Regions from separate parts of the Homo sapiens genome. Here region 1 is linked to region 2. The links are contacts of gene promoters, found by promoter capture Hi-C in human tissues and cell types (Jung and others, 2019). All regions are on one chromosome and are shown on one strand. Each heading gives the region's core, a stretch centred on a gene start or on the middle of the fragment in contact. The rest is flanking DNA. Distances are from core to core; before and after follow the strand shown. Region 1 has its middle 26 kb from the start of SCGB1D1. Region 2 holds the start of EML3 (EMAP like 3).

Region 1 (4,831 bases), core at 524-3,023, 450 kb before region 2:
ATGGGCAAAGAGTTCATGTCTAAAACACCAAAAGCAATGGCAACAAAAGTCAAAATTGACAAATGGGATATAATTAAACTAAAAAGCTTCTGCACAGCAAAAGAAACTATCATCAGAGTGAACAGGCAATCTACAGAATGGGAGAAAATTTTTGCAATTTATCCATCTGCCAAAGGGCTGATATCCAGAATCTACAAAGAACTTAAACAAATTTACAAGAAACAAACAAACAACCCCATTAAAAAGTGGGCAAAGGATATGAACAGACACTTCTCAAAAGAAGACATTTATGCAGCCAACAAACATGAAAAAAAGCTCATCATCACTGGTCATTAGAGAAATGCAAATCAAAACCACAATTAGATACCATCTCACACCAGTTAGAATGGTGATTATTAAAGTCAGGAAATAACAGGTGCTGGTGAGGATGTGGAGAAATAGGAACACTTTTACTATCAGTGGGAGTGTAAATTAGTTCAACCATTGTGGAAGACAGTGTGGCGATTCCTCAGGGATCTAGAACTAGAAATACCATTCTGTCCAGCAATCCCATTAGTGGGTATATACCCAAAGGATTTTAAATCATTCTACCATAAAGACACATGCACATGTATGTTTATTGCGGCACTATTCACAACAACAAAGACTTGGAACCAACCTAAATGTCCATCAATGATAGATTGGATAAAGAAAATCTTGCACATATACACCATGGAATACTTTGCAGCCATAAAAAAGGACGAGTTAATGTCCTTTGCAGGGACATGAATGAAGCTGGAAACCATCATCCTCAGCAAACTAACACAGGAACAGAAAACCAAACACTGCACGTTCTCACTCATAAGTGGGAGATGAACAAGGAGAACACATGGACACAGCGAGGGGAACATCACACACTGGGGCCTGTCGGCAGGTGAGAAGCTAGGGGAGGGATAGCATTAAAAGAAATACCTAATGTAGGTGACGAGTTGATGGGTGCAGCAAACCACCATGGCACATGTATGCCTATGTAACAAAACTGCACATTCTGCACCTGTACCTCAGAATTTAAAGTATAATAAGTAAATAAATAAATAAGAAAACAGGAGAAAATCCTAGTGTCTTTGTGTTTGGCACAGGTTTTTTACATATGACACCAAAAGTGTGAACTATAAAAGCAAAAGTCAATTGGACTTCATCAAAATTAGAAACTTTTGCTCTTTAAAAGTTACTGTTACTCAGCATCTTTCATTCTGCCCCGGGGTGGGATGGTACAAATAGCCCATCCTGCCGTATTCTCAGGAATAGAACGGGGCTTGATCCTCACCACTTGGTTAGGATGAAGATGAGAAAACCTGGGATTATCCAGGCTTTCTTGCTTCAGTAGGACCCATTTATGGATGCTAACCCCACCCTTCACTGTAGCCCACCCCGTTGCATGCCTGGCACATTTCCTCTTGTCAAGTACCTGCTAGCTACCTGCCATGTGAGGCTTTTCCTGTCTCCCTTAAGTAAACTAAGCCACAGCTTTTTTCTGGCTCCATCTGGGCTTTTCACAGCACATGCCTAGTCCACGTGTTGCAGTGGGATCTGGGGCCTTGAACTGTGGGTACCACTTGCTACTGAGCAACTGTGGCTGCTGGCTGAGTTCTGCGGGGGCAAGACCCATAGCAGCCTTTCTTCCCTCTGGGCTTCCATGGTGCAAACATTCCTCCAGGTTTAAGAAAGAAGAAAGAGCAGGCATGAGAAGGAAAGTGGGCTGTAACCTGTATTCCAAGGGATTGCAAACAATGCAGATCGCAGGTTATTCTCCTATCTGAACCTCTTGGAGCTTGATTCTGAGGCTTCCTTGGACATCTATAGAAACCTGGGTAGCAGCACTCAGAGCTAAGCTGAGTTACCTGATGCCTGAAGCACCTGCTCTGTACTCCTTACAGTGCTCACTGCTCTGAGCCAGCAAAGTAGAAAGTAACTTACATGGCCAACCCCAACCACATCCCCACTCCTGTCCAGTAATTTTGAATGTTCTCAACCAAAGAGATCTACCCTGCATGCTGGAAGGAGGAAGTAAACTACAGCTTGCAAAGGGGAGTTCTTTTTTGTTTTTGTTTTTTTCCTTTCTGAGACAGAGTTTCACTCTTGTTGCCCAGACTGGAGTGCAATGGTGCAATCTCAGCTCACTGCAACCTCCGCCTCCCGAGTTCAAGTGATTTTCCTGTCTCAGCCTCCCTAGTAGCTGGGATTACAGGCACATACCACCATGCCTGGATAATTTTGTATTTTTAGTAGAGATGGGGTTTCACCATGTTGGCCTGACTGGTCTCGAACTCGCGACCTCAGGTGATCCACCCACCTCGGACTCCCAAAGTGCTGGGATTACAGGTGTGAGCCACCACACCCGGCCAGGGGGGCTTTTAAAGTGCCTTTTAAGTAGTCATTCCTTTGTGGGGGTATTTGCTTTTATTGCAGTTTATTAAGCCTGAAACAGCTGACATGAAGATGGATACTTTGACTCAGGTTTGGTTGCCTGATCCATGAAGCTTTAATCTTACTTGCCCACAGATACACACACACATACCCCTACCTGTATTAATTTGCACTTTAAATATGCCCATTCCTCTGCTATTATGATATAGGAAAGTTGATAGTATCAGATTAATTTCAGGTGAACTATTCTACCTATAAAAGAATAGGAGCTAATAGGAGCTCCTATAAAAGAACAGGAGCTAATAACCCATGAAAGCTATGACGGTTTTTTTTTTTTTTGGATCTCTATTCTTCCTGCCAGCTCTGCCCCTGGCCTGGCAGGATTGGTTGAGTGGGGAATTGGTCCTTGAGAATTGGAGTAAGGGATCTTGAGGAATGTGTTTAGTGTCTTTGAGTTGTGATTTGAGAATAACAGAGGCAGGAGCCCTCTGCAGGGCTCCTGTCCTACTTGCCCCTGGGACACTGTAATAAGACAAGTATGGATTATGCCCAGTGAGGACTCCTATAACTAATTATTTAACTCAGAAAGTGCCCCAGAGGTGCTGGGGGTGCAGCAGAAAGGACTGGAGGGGTGCAGCCACTACTGCGGGAATGGTAGGGAAAGGGGCTAGGGGCTAGGGGCTAGAGGCCTTCTGCCCCAGTTATCTTATGTGGTGTTTTTTGTTTTGTTTTGTTTTGTTTTGTTTTGTTAGTTTGTTTGTTTGTTTTTTGAGAAGGAGTCTCGCTCTGTCACCCAGGCTGGAGTGCAGTGGCATGATCTCGGCTCACTGCAACCTCTGCCTCCTGAGTTCAAGCTATTCTCCTGCCTCAGCCTCCCGAGTAGCTGGGCTTACAGGCATCCGCCACCATGCCTGGCTAATTTTTGTGTTTTCAGTAGAGATGGGGTTTCTCCATGTTTGTCGGCCAGGCTGGTCTCGAACTCCTGACCTCAGGTGATCTACCTACCCTCCGCCTCCCAAAGTGCTGGGATTACAGGCTTGAGTGACTGCACCTGGCCCAAGTTATCTTACAGTGTCATTGTTTGCATGTTTGTGATGGCCCTAGACTTAACAGATAGAGAGCAGGCTCTATGGCTTAGAGAAAGACAGAAAACAGACAGTGATTGATTTAGGGTATGTAGGTAATGTGTAAGCCCAGGGCAGTGATGGTGGCTTCATCTGGTCAGAATTTCATCAAAGACACCTCTCGGGGCTAAAAAAGACCAGACTTTTTTTTTCTTTTTTCTTTTTTTTTGCTACTTGGGCAACACTGGCTTGATCTAGGTGACCTCTACGTTCCCTAGATGGACAACTTGTGTGGCCCCCAAACCTCTCCGTCTTACCCCAGTACCCCTTATTATCCTCAGCTACCATGCCACTCTCTTCAATCCCAGCAACCAGTCCTCACCTACTTCTGTAGGAGACCTCCACAGGGAGGAGCCTTACCATGAAGGTGATTGCAGTGTTTTTAATGAAAGGGGCCAAGAAAATGTGGCAATGAGGTCCTGTTCCTACGAGCTCCACTCTCCGGATTGAGACAGTGACACTTGTGGGAGCAGGACCCACTGAGGCCCAGTCCGAGGGCTCAGGTGGGAGAGCATCCACTGTGGCACTGCCGCGCTCGGGACCAGGGGCTGCTGGCCTTCAACAGTTGTGTCTCACGTTCTACTGAAGCAGATTGAGGAGAGTGACTCGGGCAGAGAATGCAGGGTGTTCTCTGTCTCCCTCCAGTAGACTAAGGCGTGTTAGTCTACATGAGGTCAACATGCAGACTGCAATGCAGGGAATCCTCTCTCATTCCTCGGGTAGGAGGGCAGGGCTGGGAATTACAACAGGGACCTCCCCTAATTGTCCGCCACCTGCCTGGAGTCACTTAGCAAAAAATAAAAATAATAAAAATCTGTGTTTGGCCCTGATGTGGACTCTACAGCTCCTTTTGCCACTCCCTGTGTCAGGGCCAAGGAGATGGGGTTTGTTGTCCAGCTCTGTCTAACCACTTCCCGGGGAATAGTCTGGGAATATGGATGACAACCTTTAATCGCAAAGTGCCTACTGTGTGTGAGGCACTGGGCGAGTTGAGTTGCGTTGGCCATAACCTTCAATCGCATTTGCTGATTGAGGGGTGATATTATCTTCATCTTCATTTTAAGTCTCTGGAAAGTGACACTCAAAGAGTTAAAGCAACCTCAAGCCCAAGGTTGTGTGGAGTGTGCAGTCGGGCAGGAAGCTCCACTGGACTTCGAAGGTGTTGCTCTAAGGCAAGCCTGCTACGACGCATGTCAAGACATCAGAAATGTTAAGAGGCTTCCCTCCATTGCCTCTTGTTGGCCAAAAGCACCCAGACTTTTCTGATGCCAGTGGGGACTTCCCAGTCCTTGCCCTGGCAA
Region 2 (4,511 bases), core at 417-2,916:
GCAAGGGCCTGAGGATCCCCGGGGGGCCAGGGGAGCCAGCACCACTGCTGCTGCTGCCCCCTCCTTCAGATTGGGTCCCGCTAGGCTCTTCGCTGGCCCCCTGAGGGGCTGGGGGTCCATTGCTCAGGCCAGGGGGTCCAGGGGATGACTTGAGCTCCACCTCTGTCTCCGTCTGGGTGCCTCGGCTCACCAAGGAAGGGGTGCACGTGGGTGGCAGTCCTGGGGGGGCTGCAAGACTGCTGGAGAGATGTTGAATTAACCTGAAGCCCCAGAGGCCCCAAGGAGGAGGAAAAATGGGGTGTGATGACATGCATACCTGTCCCCCGGAGGAGCTGGTGTGCCAGAGCCCTGCAGGGAGGAAGGGGGCACCTGCAGCCGCAGCAGGCGAAGGGCTTCTGCCAGGGCTGCCTTTACCAGTTCCATCTCCTGCTCCTGCACCCGAAGCCGCTGGCTCAGAGACTGGAGGGCCTCCCGAGCAGGGCCGTCACCTGGGAAAAGGGCAAGAGGTACTCAGAATGTACCCATCACCTGAAGAAAGCGTAGAGGGGATTCTGTCTCCCCACAACTTTACATGTGTCCGGTAGGACTGCCCCTTTCAGGCAGCCCCAGGCTTGAATGCTCGTCCAGAGGGGAGGAGACGGTGGTAAAGGATCAAGGGCCTCCTTCTGGCAGGGCAGGCGAGAAACCTGGCAAAGCTCCCTTCCTGCTGCCGTCTCAGCCTCCGCAAAGACTGGGAGTACCATGGAGTACCGGGGGGGAAATATGGAGTACTGCCGAGGAACGTGGGAGCCACAGAGAGAGGCGCCGCACTGGTGAGGGCAGGGACCGCAGCCCTCCCCACGCGCCCCCAGCAAGCTCAGGTCTCCAGCGAAAGCTGAGTAACTGAGCCGGGGGAACACCAGGAGAGAGAACGGGGTGCGGGAATGGAGTCATACTGAGGACCCAGAGTACAAGAAAAGAGATCCAGAGTGACAGGAGAGAGTGTGAGTGGTGAGCAGAGTCACAGTGAAGGTCTCAGGGGGCAGTGGGGATCAGAAGGAAAAAGACCTGAAATACCACGAGAAGAGGCCCGGAGTAACGCAGGGGGCAGGGAAACATCGAGGGGCCCGGAGTTACGTGGGGCGTAGAATGACGCTGGGGAAGCCCGAAGTGACAGCAAGACCCAAGCAACTAGGGAGGGCGACCGGAGGAACTGTGGAGGATGCTCGGAGCCCCTGGGGCGGAGGAGCACGCGGGGACGCCTCCAGACAGCCGTCCAGCTCTGGCATAACCCGACGAGCCGGGCGCTCCGGGAAGGGGCACGCCGCCCGCCCCGCCCCGTACTCACCGGGCCCCGCGGCCCCGTCCATCCGGCCCCCGGGTTGCTCCGAGCGGCGGCGGCGGAGGAGGCGTCTAAGCCGCGGGGGCCACGGCCGGGGAGAGGGGAAGGGGAAGCACCCCGGGGCGCGCGCGAAGGGCGCCGTACCACCACCCCGAGGGGGCGCTGTCGGGCGCGGGGAAGGGGCCTGGAGGGGGCGCTGTGGGCCCGGGGCCGCAGTCTCCAGACCCCCCCGGGCCCTCGGACTCTCCCGGGGCCGCTCTCGGCTCCCGGGGGTGGGGTGGCAGGGCCGTCCGGTGCCACAGCGCCGCAGCACAAACAGGCGCCGGACGCGGAGCCGCCAGGAAGCGCGGGAGGGGGGGCGGGCCCGAGGGGGGGCCGGGCCGCTTGGTAACCCCTCCCTGTCCGGGCCTCGCCGCTCAGTACGGGGGCGGGGCTAGCCGGCTGACCCCCTGGCCTACTCCCGGCCTCCGGCTCCAGGCCCTTCCCGGATCCCCGCCCCCGGATTCCCAGGGGACGGGGAAGGGAGCGCCCGCCCCGATATCTCCGCCCCCCAGCCCCTAACCCCTCAGGGTTGAGCGGACCAACCCCACCACTTCCGCGAGGGGCAGGGGCGGGGTCACAAAACGGGCCCTCGGCCTAGGGGCGGAGTTTCTCGTAAGGGGCAAGGCCAAGGCATCTTGTATTGGGGCTGACAGGGGGGCGGGTTATTAGGGCTGAGGATGGGAGGATGCTCAGGGTATTGGGGTCAGGGTGGCATTAGCCCAGCTCAAGCCGGGCCGGGCTGACTCAGCATCCTGCCCCAGCCAGCTTCCATCCCTGACACCTCTGCATTCCCTTGGGCAGAGATGGGAGATGGCGCCGGTGTTGCCCCTGGTGCTGCCCCTGCAGCCCCGCATCCGCCTGGCACAAGGGCTCTGGCTCCTCTCCTGGCTGCTGGCGCTGGCTGGTGGCGTCATCCTCCTCTGTAGTGGGCACCTCCTGGTCCAGCTAAGGCACCTTGGCACCTTCCTGGCTCCCTCCTGTCAGTTCCCTGTCCTGCCCCAGGCTGCCCTGGCAGCGGGCGCGGTGGCTCTGGGCACAGGACTAGTGGGTGTAGGAGCCAGCCGGGCAAGTCTGAATGCAGCTCTATACCCTCCCTGGCGAGGGGTCCTGGGCCCGCTGCTGGTGGCTGGCACGGCTGGTGGGGGGGGGCTCCTGGTCGTCGGCCTCGGGCTAGCCCTGGCTTTGCCTGGGAGTCTGGATGAGGCGCTGGAGGAGGGCCTGGTGACTGCCTTGGCTCACTACAAGGACACAGAGGTGCCTGGGCACTGTCAGGCCAAAAGGCTGGTGGATGAGCTGCAACTGAGGTACCACTGCTGCGGGCGCCACGGGTACAAGGATTGGTTTGGGGTCCAGTGGGTCAGCAGCCGTTACCTGGATCCCGGTGACCGGGATGTGGCTGAGTGAGTGATTTGCGTCTCCCTTCCTCCTCCTCCTCCTCCCTGGACAGGCTCCCTCCTGCTGCCTTGAATCCCCACCTCGCTCAGAGGGGCAATAAGTAGAACATAGTGGCTGAGAGACTGGTTACAGCTCTGCCATTTATTAGCTGTGAAACCCAGGGCATGTTACCAAACCACCCTGGGCCCATTCCTTCACCTGTAAAATGGAAATAATAGTACTTATCTGATAGAGTTGTTGTGAAGATGTGAATTATGCTTGGCTGGCACATAGTACAGCAGTCAGTAAATGTTTTACTATTCTTTTTCCCTTCTGAACACCTGTGCCCTTCAGTCCCTCCCCCAGGCCTCTATCTCCAGACATCCTAACCCCTCTGTCCCTCCCTTTGCAGCCGGATCCAGAGCAATGTAGAAGGCCTATACCTGACTGATGGGGTCCCTTTCTCCTGTTGCAACCCCCACTCACCCCGGCCTTGCCTGCAAAACCGTCTTTCAGACTCCTACGCCCACCCCCTGTTCGATCCCCGACAACCCAACCAAAACCTCTGGGCCCAAGGGTGCCATGAGGTGCTGCTGGAGCACTTGCAGGACTTGGCAGGCACACTGGGTAGCATGCTGGCTGTCACCTTCCTACTGCAGGTGAGTCAGCAAAGCATCTGACACCTCCTCCCACCCGGGACTCCTCCCTGCCTCCAACCCTGGGCCTCTTGGAACCGCTGACTCTCCCTGACTCTTTCCCCTTGCTTCCCCCACAGGCTCTGGTGCTCCTTGGCCTGCGGTACCTGCAAACAGCACTGGAGGGGCTTGGAGGGGTCATTGATGCGGGAGGAGAGACCCAGGGCTATCTCTTTCCCAGTGGGCTGAAAGATATGCTGAAAACAGCATGGCTACAGGGAGGGGTTGCCTGCAGGCCAGCACCTGAGGAGGCCCCACCAGGAGAAGCACCTCCCAAGGAGGATCTATCTGAGGCCTAGAGGCCTGGAGCTTGGGGTGAGGAAGAGGGAGGGATGGACAAGTCTGAAAACCTCACAACTCCTTACCAAGGCTCCAGGTTGGGGGGATCGTAGGATTAGAGGGGCTAAGGATAGTCAGCGAGCTGGACTGGGGTAAGAAAGAAAACCAGATGTCCTAGGGCCTAGCCCTTGTAGTCAGAACCACCAGGGAACAGCAAAGAACAGAGTGATGGGAAAGTGACATGAGAAGGCCTGGAGGCTGATTCTGATATAGACTCAATAAAGTTTTTGGATGGAAGCAATTGCTTTTTCTTGTCAAGGGGATGGGGGCCTGGGAGAACTGATTTCTGTCTGATGGAGCAGCTAGGACTCCAAAGTTTGGACCCTGGCTCGACCTGTGCAGCAACAGGAGCCCACATCTGTAAGGATCAGAAAGCAAGAACCCAATGTAAGAAGCAAAGGAAAACAAGAGGCCCCTCCAGGTTGAGATTCTTTATTCTGGAGGTAGGAAGGGGGTCAGCATGCTCAGGTGGGAAGGGTCCAGCCCAGCTCCTCCAGCCCCCCAGTGCATGCCCAGCCCCAATAAGTTACCCAGTTACTCAGCTGCCCTCCCTCCTGGGTCCATCTGTCCTTCTGTTCCACCCTAGACAGGGCCAACCTGACTCAACACAAGGGCTGCTTGTCCCCAGCCTGTGGGCAGTGCCACACGGCAGGCTAGGGGAGGGGTGAAGCAGCAGGACCATGCCCTGGGCCTGGAGGGGCAGAGGGGCCACTTCTGGCTCCAAGGGTCAGGACTTGGAA

Evidence for each region. Contacts are between HindIII fragments. The study calls those that stand out against the background at their distance.
Region 1: a fragment that was not itself captured here is called in contact with the fragment with the promoter of EML3 in region 2 in 1 of the 25 tissues and cell types used here (dorsolateral prefrontal cortex).

What each region holds. Positions count from the first base shown.
Region 1 is chr11:62,161,856-62,166,686 of GRCh38, forward strand. No RefSeq gene overlaps it. Among named protein-coding and RNA genes, the nearest start is that of SCGB1D1, 26 kb to the right of the region's middle. The HindIII fragment of the contact is 4,748 bases long and covers 1-4,147 here.
Region 2 is chr11:62,611,109-62,615,619 of GRCh38, forward strand. EML3 (EMAP like 3) reads right to left here and starts at 1,667. Exons shown (of 22, transcript NM_153265.3): 1 at 1,328-1,667; 2 at 317-488; 3 at 1-236. The coding sequence starts at 1,349. It overlaps ROM1 (retinal outer segment membrane protein 1), which reads left to right and starts at 2,149. Exons shown (of 3, transcript NM_000327.4): 1 at 2,149-2,763; 2 at 3,150-3,396; 3 at 3,513-4,008. The coding sequence starts at 2,174. The coding sequence ends at 3,731. B3GAT3 (beta-1,3-glucuronyltransferase 3) reads right to left here. Exons shown (of 5, transcript NM_012200.4): 5 at 4,188-4,511. RefSeq lists enhancers at 192-750, 751-1,310, 2,084-2,143 and a silencer at 1,154-2,033. The HindIII fragment of the contact is 22,621 bases long and covers 1-4,511 here.